Linked DNA regions of Homo sapiens: region 2 is linked to region 1. The links are contacts of gene promoters, found by promoter capture Hi-C in blood cells and fetal thymus (Javierre and others, 2016). All regions are on one chromosome and are shown on one strand. The core of a region is centred on a gene start or on the middle of the fragment in contact, and the rest is flanking DNA. Distances in the headings are between cores, read along the strand shown. Region 1 holds the start of KCNA10 (potassium voltage-gated channel subfamily A member 10). Region 2 overlaps LOC124904296 (a long non-coding RNA gene).

Region 1 (4,530 bases), core at 665-3,164:
GCACTGTCTGCCACCTCCTCACCATCAGACCCTCATCAAACACCCTCCTACCTGTCACTTGACCTGGGGGTGGAAGTGACAAAGAGGAACCTAGGAGGCAGGGAGAAGGGAAATGGCCTGGCTCCCAAAAAAGGAAGTTAATTATTTGGCCAAAGAAGCTCTCCCTAATCCCCAAATGCTTTCTGCTGCTGGCCTCCAGAGAAGTTCCTGATAAGGGTCACTCTAGCCTTGGCTAGAACCATGGAAGTGGTTCCCAAACCTTGCCCAAAGCTCACTGATGGTACTCATTCCTCTCAGAAAGCGGGACTGATTCACACCTGGAAGATAATCATCAGGGAGCACCATCTGCGGTCCAAGACCCCAAAGGAGAAAATGGTGCTCCGAAGACATGAGATCAACACAGAGCTGGAGTCCCCCACCCACAGCCATCCAGCTGCCAAGCAGTTCAGGACAAGGCCCCCAAATCATCATGCGAATTACTGTGAAGCTACATTTCTCCAGGGCTTTACCATGTACAGAGCCAGGATTTGAACTCGGGTGGACTGATTCTATTCTCAGATTCCATCCTGCCTCCCAGCCATCCTACTGCTCACCGAGCCTTGCAGAGCAGGCTGGCACCTGGCATGCTTGGCAGTGGGTACATCCTTCCTCATTCCACAACTGAGGAAGCAGCAGCTCCGTGAAATTAGGCCGTTTGCAATGGCCACATACTCCTGAGAGGTAGAATGGGTACTCTACCAGTGCTGACCAACCAGACTTGAGCTCATCATTCAACACATGGCACCTGAACTGAGAAAAGGGGTCATGGGATGGAAAGAGCTCTGGACCCCTGACAATTCTGTGGCCCTAGCCTACAGCTCCCCACAAGGCTCAGCTCCTATATAGGGACTCCATGGTCTAGTGGGAAAGGCCCTGGGCCAGAAGGCCATGGCCAGGTTTAGGTCAGGACTCTGTAGCACTAGTTATGTGACCTTAGGAAGTCACTTTGTCCCTGTGACTTGGTTTCCGCATCTGCAAAACAGAGATAACATCTAACCTCACGTGATTATTGTCATCTAGTGAGATAAGTGAATGTGGAATCACTTTGAAAAGACTACAACACTACACTGCAGGATAGCCTTGTCGCCTGTAAAGGAAACCTCTCCAAGGCTGTGACCACTACAGATTTTGCCTGAGGTTAAGTCCCTTACTTCTCTCCCACTCCCACCCCCAGCCTGCCTGGGTTCAGTGTTCTTAAATTGAAACTGAAGCTAGAATGAACCTGAGGAAAGAAATATTAGTCTATGTGTATAGATGTCCAAGCCCACTGGGCATGATTTCCTAACCCCACCTCCAGCGTGCGCGCGCACACACACACACACACACACACATATACACACACACACACAGACACACACAATTATTTACTTCCTTCCCACCTAAAATGATTTCTCAAAATGAAATTACTTCCTATGGACACCTTGGACTCAGGCCAAAAAAAATTCCAATTGCTGGTAGTTTCTAAAGTGCTTGTTATGTGGGAAAGTTGACAAAAAACAATAGCTATAATATAGTGATCTTTCTTTCCACCAAGCATTCCATACGTGTTATCTCATTTGAGGTACCTTCAAAACAACTCTAGGAGTTATTTCCAGGTGAGGGGTCATTTAGAGGACATTGTCGATTGGCCAACCCAGCGTCTTGTTTTTCCTTCCCTAAAGAATCCCCATTGGGTTCATAGATCTGGTTCCACCCTTCACCACTTGGTCCAGAAGCAGGGGTGGAAGTGATGCAAAATGGTTGAATTCTAGATATATTTTGAAGACATGACCAAAAGGATGTGTGAGGGACTGGCTGTTGGTGTGAAAGAGAGGCATTACGAATGAGATTGGGCATGGAGACGTGTTTGGTGAGACAGAAGGCTTCATGCAAATACAAGATCATGCTTTTTATTATTAAGGAATGTTAACTTCCTCTTTTAGTATGGCCCCTCTGCCATCACATATGGAGACCATCCTTTGCTGGGGAGAATCTCCCCTTCTTTGCCAGGATCCTTTTTTTGCAATTTCTCCTAGTTATTAGTTTATGCAAACTCAGGGGTACAAAATGATTTTAAGGGAAGCATGCTGCCAAAATAACCATGACGTTCCTTCCCAAGCTACAAATAAGTCATTGATTAGCCCATTGGTGTACCTTACCTCAATAAACAAGGGCCAGTTGTATTCTGCCCTGGATCTTGTATAATGAACTTCTTCTTCTCCATAGCTCACAGCAGGCAGTGAAGGCTGAGGATCTTCATGCTTCTTCCCTGGCTCCCCTAGAATGGATGTGTGTGGCTGGAAAGAAATGGAGGTTGCGCTGGTCAATTTTGATAATTCAGATGAAATCCAAGAAGAGCCAGGCTATGCCACAGACTTCGACTCAACCAGCCCAAAAGGCCGGCCTGGGGGCAGCTCCTTCTCCAACGGGAAGATCCTCATCAGCGAAAGCACCAACCATGAGACGGCCTTCTCCAAGCTTCCGGGAGACTATGCTGACCCCCCAGGGCCTGAGCCAGTGGTCCTAAATGAAGGAAACCAGCGGGTGATCATCAACATTGCTGGGCTGAGATTTGAGACCCAGCTCAGAACCCTTAGTCAGTTCCCAGAGACTCTCCTGGGAGACCGGGAAAAAAGGATGCAGTTCTTTGACTCCATGAGAAATGAGTATTTCTTTGATCGGAACCGGCCCAGTTTTGATGGAATCCTATATTATTACCAATCTGGTGGGAAAATTCGGCGCCCAGCCAATGTTCCCATTGATATCTTTGCTGATGAAATCTCCTTCTATGAGCTGGGTAGTGAGGCCATGGACCAGTTCCGGGAGGATGAAGGCTTCATCAAAGACCCTGAAACACTGCTACCCACCAATGACATCCACCGTCAGTTCTGGCTCCTCTTTGAGTACCCTGAAAGTTCCAGCGCTGCCCGTGCTGTGGCCGTGGTCTCGGTGTTGGTTGTGGTCATCTCCATCACCATCTTCTGCCTGGAGACACTGCCAGAGTTCCGGGAGGATAGGGAGCTAAAGGTGGTCAGAGACCCCAATCTCAACATGAGCAAGACAGTCCTCTCCCAGACCATGTTCACCGACCCTTTCTTCATGGTGGAGTCTACCTGCATCGTGTGGTTCACCTTCGAGCTGGTGCTCCGGTTCGTGGTCTGCCCCAGCAAGACTGACTTCTTCAGGAACATCATGAACATCATTGACATCATCTCCATTATCCCCTACTTTGCAACTCTCATCACAGAGCTAGTCCAGGAGACAGAGCCGAGTGCCCAACAGAACATGTCCCTGGCCATCCTGAGGATCATCCGCCTGGTGAGGGTCTTCCGCATCTTCAAGCTCTCGCGCCACTCCAAGGGGCTGCAGATCCTCGGGCAAACACTGAAGGCGTCCATGCGGGAGTTGGGGTTGCTCATCTTCTTTCTCTTCATTGGAGTCATCCTCTTCTCCAGTGCAGTCTACTTTGCTGAGGTGGATGAGCCAGAGTCCCATTTCTCTAGCATTCCTGATGGCTTCTGGTGGGCAGTGGTCACCATGACAACTGTAGGCTATGGGGACATGTGCCCGACCACCCCAGGGGGGAAGATTGTGGGCACTCTGTGTGCCATTGCAGGGGTCCTCACCATTGCCCTCCCTGTGCCTGTCATTGTCTCCAACTTCAATTACTTCTACCACCGGGAGACTGAGAATGAAGAAAAGCAGAACATCCCAGGAGAAATTGAAAGAATCCTCAACAGTGTAGGCTCAAGAATGGGCAGCACAGACTCTCTTAATAAGACCAATGGTGGCTGTTCCACAGAGAAGTCTAGGAAATGATCAGTCCAGGGCTTCTTGGGTCCATCCTGTCTCTCTTCTCTCTTCTCTCTCTCTCTCTCTCGCTTTCTCCCCTCCTCTCTCTCTTCCTTCTGCCTTCCCTTCCTCCCTTCATTCCTTCCTCTTTCCCTCTCCCTTCTCTCATTTCATCTTTCCAAAGATCAAAATGTATCTTTTGTGATCAATAACTATCTTTGACTACAAGCTATTTTAATAAGCCCATACTTCTACTGTATTTTCTAAACTGTTTCTTTTCAATACATTATAGAAAGATTTGGATCTCTTTTCCTATGAAGGGATAGTTCAGGTCCCCAGACCAGAAATACTGGTATCACCCGGGAGGATGAAAATGCAGAATCTAGGCCTACTCTGACCTACTGAATCAGAATCTGCAGTTTAACAAGATCCCAAGTGATTCGTTTGCATATTAAAGATTTAAAAGCACTGGTTTTGGTCTTCCTACGAGGAAGCATATGAAAAGACCAAGGGTTGCTGTGAGCAAAGAGGAAGAGCTCAGAGTTATTCAATTACAATAATAATAATACCTTGTACTTGTGTAGCACTGCATAAATTTTCCAAAAACACTTTCACCTACATTATCTCACTGCATCTTAGAATAATCAGATTTGATTATTATTTGATTTGATTATTATTCCCACATTACAGGTGAACAAACCAGGGGAGAGCAACTTACCT
Region 2 (4,530 bases), core at 878-3,377, 240 kb before region 1:
GTAAAGTGGGGTAGGGTCAGAGGGGTGGACCAAAAAGAAGGTGATATCCAGCTAAGACATGAAGGATGAAGAGCAGTTCCCCAGAAGGAGAAGGAATAAAAAGCAAATTCTAATGGTTGTTATTTTCACTTATGGCTGTATCGAAGGAAGAAAAACCATGAATCTATTCAAGCAGATTCATTCCTTCAATATTCAAACACTTATTAAGAACCTACCATGGACCAGGCCCCATGCTAGGCAGATATTTTTAATACAGATTGGCTAAAAAGTATGTAAAGAAGCAGCACATGTCAATTCAACAAAGTATTTTATACAGATTAGCAATAATATAGTCCAGGTAAGTTTTCCTCATGATTTCTTAATTCAAATAAAAAGCCTAGAAAAATAATGCATACAGATAACAAATTCATTAGGCAGTTTCTCTCAAATATCAACTGTCCCAGCAAGCATTTGGCAAGAGCTTCATCACAATCAATTCCTGGTTGAATTCTCTGATGAGGGTTGGAAATGCCATTATTCTGAGTTGCTGATTAAAGAGGGATTCACATGCTTTACACACACCAGATGTGCAGGAGGTGGAGCCCACTGCCTCTGCTGAATAATTAGGAGCCTGATTTACATTCTCTGTCAGAGGCAGGGCCCGTATATTTCTCATTGCAGCTGAGGAAGACTGTGTGTGCGTGCATGTTTAAGTGTTTAGTGCTAACCTCTTGCCAGGCACCATGCTAGACACTTTACATTATCTCCTTTATTTTTTGCTGTGATCTTTTTGAGACAGATATGTTATAGAGATGCCTGTGGAAACAGAAGCATTTATTTTCTTCTATATATTATTATTTATTGTATCAGGGATGTTGCCAGTCAATTCTAGTATAGACAGAGAGAATTGCCTTGAAACATTTTTCTGTTCAGGGAAGTTACTTGAGTAGCCTCTCAAGACAAGTAGGTGCTCTGCACCCCGGGAAGGTTATAACAGCACCTGTTTTGTGCTAGACCATGCTTTTCCTTTTTAATTTCTCTGAATCTGTGGGGTTTATAGGTAGAAAGGGACTGTTCACATTTCAACAGGGCGAAGAAGCTCCAGGAAGCTAAGAAATGGAGATCCAATGGTTCCTTTTGAAAGTCATTATTACTAGAATCTCTTTGAATGAATGTTCTCCCAACTTAAATGTCAGCTCTGCAAGAGCAGGGTTCTCTGTATCTAAAAGACTCGGATAGTGGCTCGCACATAGTAAGTGCTCAATAAATATTTGTTGAGTGACCCTTATCCCCCAATTCTTTAGCGCATACACCTGCCCCCAAGTTTTCCAGATTAAATTTTAACTTTTCCTTTCTTATTAATTCTCCACTAATCTTCCTGAAATAACCAAAAGTTTCAGCAGCTTTTAAAGCCTCTTTATATATTCACATCCAATTGAAAATTATAAAAATATGTACTCAAATAAAAGATAATGTCTGTCCTCCTGTTTGTTATAACCAGAGAATGTGCAATCAGATTATCTAATAATACTTATGTCAAGTTGTTTAAATAAATAAGCTAAAAAAAGAGGTGGTAGTTAATAAGAGCACATTTTAAACCGTTTAATGTGGAATTATATACATTATTAGGCAGGTACTACTTCTGATTTTGTAATAATGTTTCTTCACTGGAATCTATGATAAATTCATTGTTTGAGATGACATCTTTGTGAGGCTATCTAAACTTAAGCCTTTGGATTGATTTAGCTAAATTTCATTCAAAGTGTTTTAAAATAAATTTACCATCATTTTGATGTTTTTAGAAATCTTTATAAAATCAACAGATGAAAGAGTTAGAAGAATTTGATTTTAGCCTGCCAATAATCTATTAGTCTATTATTTGAGAGGAAATCTATGTCATTTCAAGTCAATTCAATAAACACACATCGAAAACCAACTCTATGCCAGGCATTAGGATATGAACAAAATACATAAAGATGTGAAACATGGCACCTGCCCTTAAGAAGCTTATAGTCTAGTGGGGAGAAACAAATGACCAAGGAAATGGATATAATGCAGATAAGAAGTGGAATAAGATCTGAGGGGCTGATTTTTTATAGGATAAAGGTAATGTCTGTACACTGTGAAAGGAAGGAAGATAGAGTATGAATTTACAGATATTGGTAGTTTCTGTTTTGAATTATAGAGAGGTTCATTCCATATTAATCTTCTTTATCCACTTAATACCTTTATTACTCTTATATGTACAGTCAGATTTAGGGCAATAATATTTAGGTTTAGAATAAGCTTAAAGATGAAATGCTGACCTTCAGTCTTGTCTAGAATATTTTTCTGAAGAATTGAGATAAACAATGAAGGATGGACAATTAAATGACCAGTAATGCTGGCTCCTTGGTTGAGGCGTATATGAAATTTACTCTCAAATTATTCTACAAGCTATCATAAATATTTTTAAATTGCTATAATAAAAGATCCTAGGTATGTTTCCATCTTTTGGTCACCTTTGAAAAGAGGCCAAGGAAGAACAATCCTCAGATCAGTTATTCCAAAAATCACTGCTATTCTGGAAGGCAACTCCTCTACACTATTGTCAGGCAAAAGATGTCTGAAAACAATATAAAATTCAGGAAGGTGTCTGCATTTTCCCTGACATTATTCCTTTTCAAATATGTTCCAGTGGCACTACACTAAGCATTTTACCTATGTTATCCCAATTAAGCTCCCCACAATCCTATAAAGAAGTCATAAAACCACTGAATGTAAAGCTCATGTGAGCAGAGACTGCAGTCTCTTTCATTACCAGCTGTCTCCCCAGAGCCTAGAACAGAGCCTGGAATTGCACAGATGCTTGTAAATATTTTTGGAATGAATGAAAGGTTGGCTGACTACATGTTAAAGAACTTTCTCAAGGTCACATAGCTAGTAAAGAGTAGAGTCAGGACTCCAACTCAGATCTGTCCGATTGCAAAGCTTCTGCTTCTAACCCCTACGCTCTATTATCTTCCCTGGCTTGAAACTACATTTTCCATCAATTCCAGACAGCTGAAAAATCAGGATGTCCAATATTTCCAGAGGCACCAACTGGAAAACTGCCCTAGTTAGTCTTGACAAGAAACTAGAGTGGGGATTAAGAGAGCAGTCCTTGTTTTAAGGAGACTCAGAGGTGGGACAGTGATGGCTAATTCACCTCTAGGTACCATCTAAGTTGGCATCTTTGAAGATATGTTGTGAGGTTTAAATAATATTCTATATGTAATAGACTTAGCCTGGTACTTAAGACTTAGTAACAATCAATAGTTGCAAGAACAAAGACAGTAACTGTAAATTTTATAGAACATATGATGCTGTTATCCTAAAATGTTGAAAGTAAATGACAGTAGAGCTTTAGAGTGACTTTAGATGGTAAGACTGATGTCCAGCACAGTTGCCTGACTCATGTAGTAATCATTTGAATGGCTTAATGAGCCTCCTATTTGCCTTCCTATTTTAATATAACAGGAGTACTGAGAAATATATTTTTAAATTGTATTCTGAACACTTTACAAATCCCGACTCCTTTAACCCTCATAACAACCTTTGAGGTAGATATCATGATTACCATCCCCACTTTACACATTATTTTACTTAATAGATTTGAATTCAGCCTGTCAGTAATCTGTTAATCTATGATTTGAGAGGAAATGGAGGCACAAAGAGGCTAAGCAATTTGACAAGATCATGTAGCTGGTGAGTGCCAAGGTGGGATTAAACCCAGACAACATGGCTTCAGGTCTATGCTCTTAACCAGTATACTCTAGAAAAGAGCAGTGTAGTCAGTTCTAACTCCTATGGCCTGCTGGCACCCTGAAGCTGGCTGCCTGTATGAACCTACAGTACAGACTATGTAACAAACAGACAACAAAATACAAATTTATAATACTTCAGAAATTGGTAGTTGTCAATGTCTTTATCATAAGAAGAAGGAAGACATAAAATCAGTGATCTAAGTTTACTTCCATCTTAAAAGCTGGAAAAGGAAGAGCAAATTAAATCTAAAGTAAGTAGAAGAAAATAAGTAACAAAAATAAGGACAGAAATCAATTAAATAAAAAATGGACAAACAGATAAAATCAGTGCAAACATTTATTATTAGAAAAGATGAATAAAATTGGTAATCCCCACCTAGACTGCTGTGAAGATTATAAAATGCGATTTAAAATTTTTGATGCTCTTTCCATCAAGAAATGGACTCTATATTTCTTCCTCTTAATTTGGGCTGGCCTCGGTGACTTGCTTGTAACCAGTAAAATTTGGTGAACATGGCAATGTTTTACTTTCAATCTATGTTAGGAAAAGCCAAACAACTTCCAACTGGTTCTCTTGGGATGCTTGCTCTGGAAGAAGACAGCTGCTAAGCTGGAGAGGCCACATGTAAACACTCCATCAACAGCCCCAGCTGAGCTCCCAGCCAACAGCAGGCACCAGCTGCCAGCCATGTAAGGAAGCCATCTTGGGCATCCTGCCTAGTTGAGTCTCACATGACTGGAGCCCCAACTGACAACTGAATTCAAT

The links. The method cuts DNA at HindIII sites, captures the fragments that hold promoters and counts their contacts. A CHiCAGO score of 5 or more calls a contact.
Region 2: a contact is called between a fragment that was not itself captured here and the fragment with the promoter of KCNA10 in region 1, in 4 of 17 cell types (endothelial precursors, total CD8 T cells, activated CD4 T cells and 1 more). The highest score is 5.7, in endothelial precursors.

The regions. Positions count from the first base shown.
Region 1 is chr1:110,516,559-110,521,088 of GRCh38, reverse strand. KCNA10 (potassium voltage-gated channel subfamily A member 10) reads left to right here and starts at 1,914. Exons shown (of 1, transcript NM_005549.2): 1 at 1,914-3,872. The coding sequence starts at 2,302. The coding sequence ends at 3,837. The HindIII fragment of the contact is 5,009 bases long and covers 1-2,498 here.
Region 2 is chr1:110,756,591-110,761,120 of GRCh38, reverse strand. All of the region lies in intron 1 of LOC124904296 (a long non-coding RNA gene), which reads left to right. Among named protein-coding and RNA genes, the nearest start is that of KCNA3, 84 kb to the right of the region's middle. The HindIII fragment of the contact is 280 bases long and covers 1,988-2,267 here.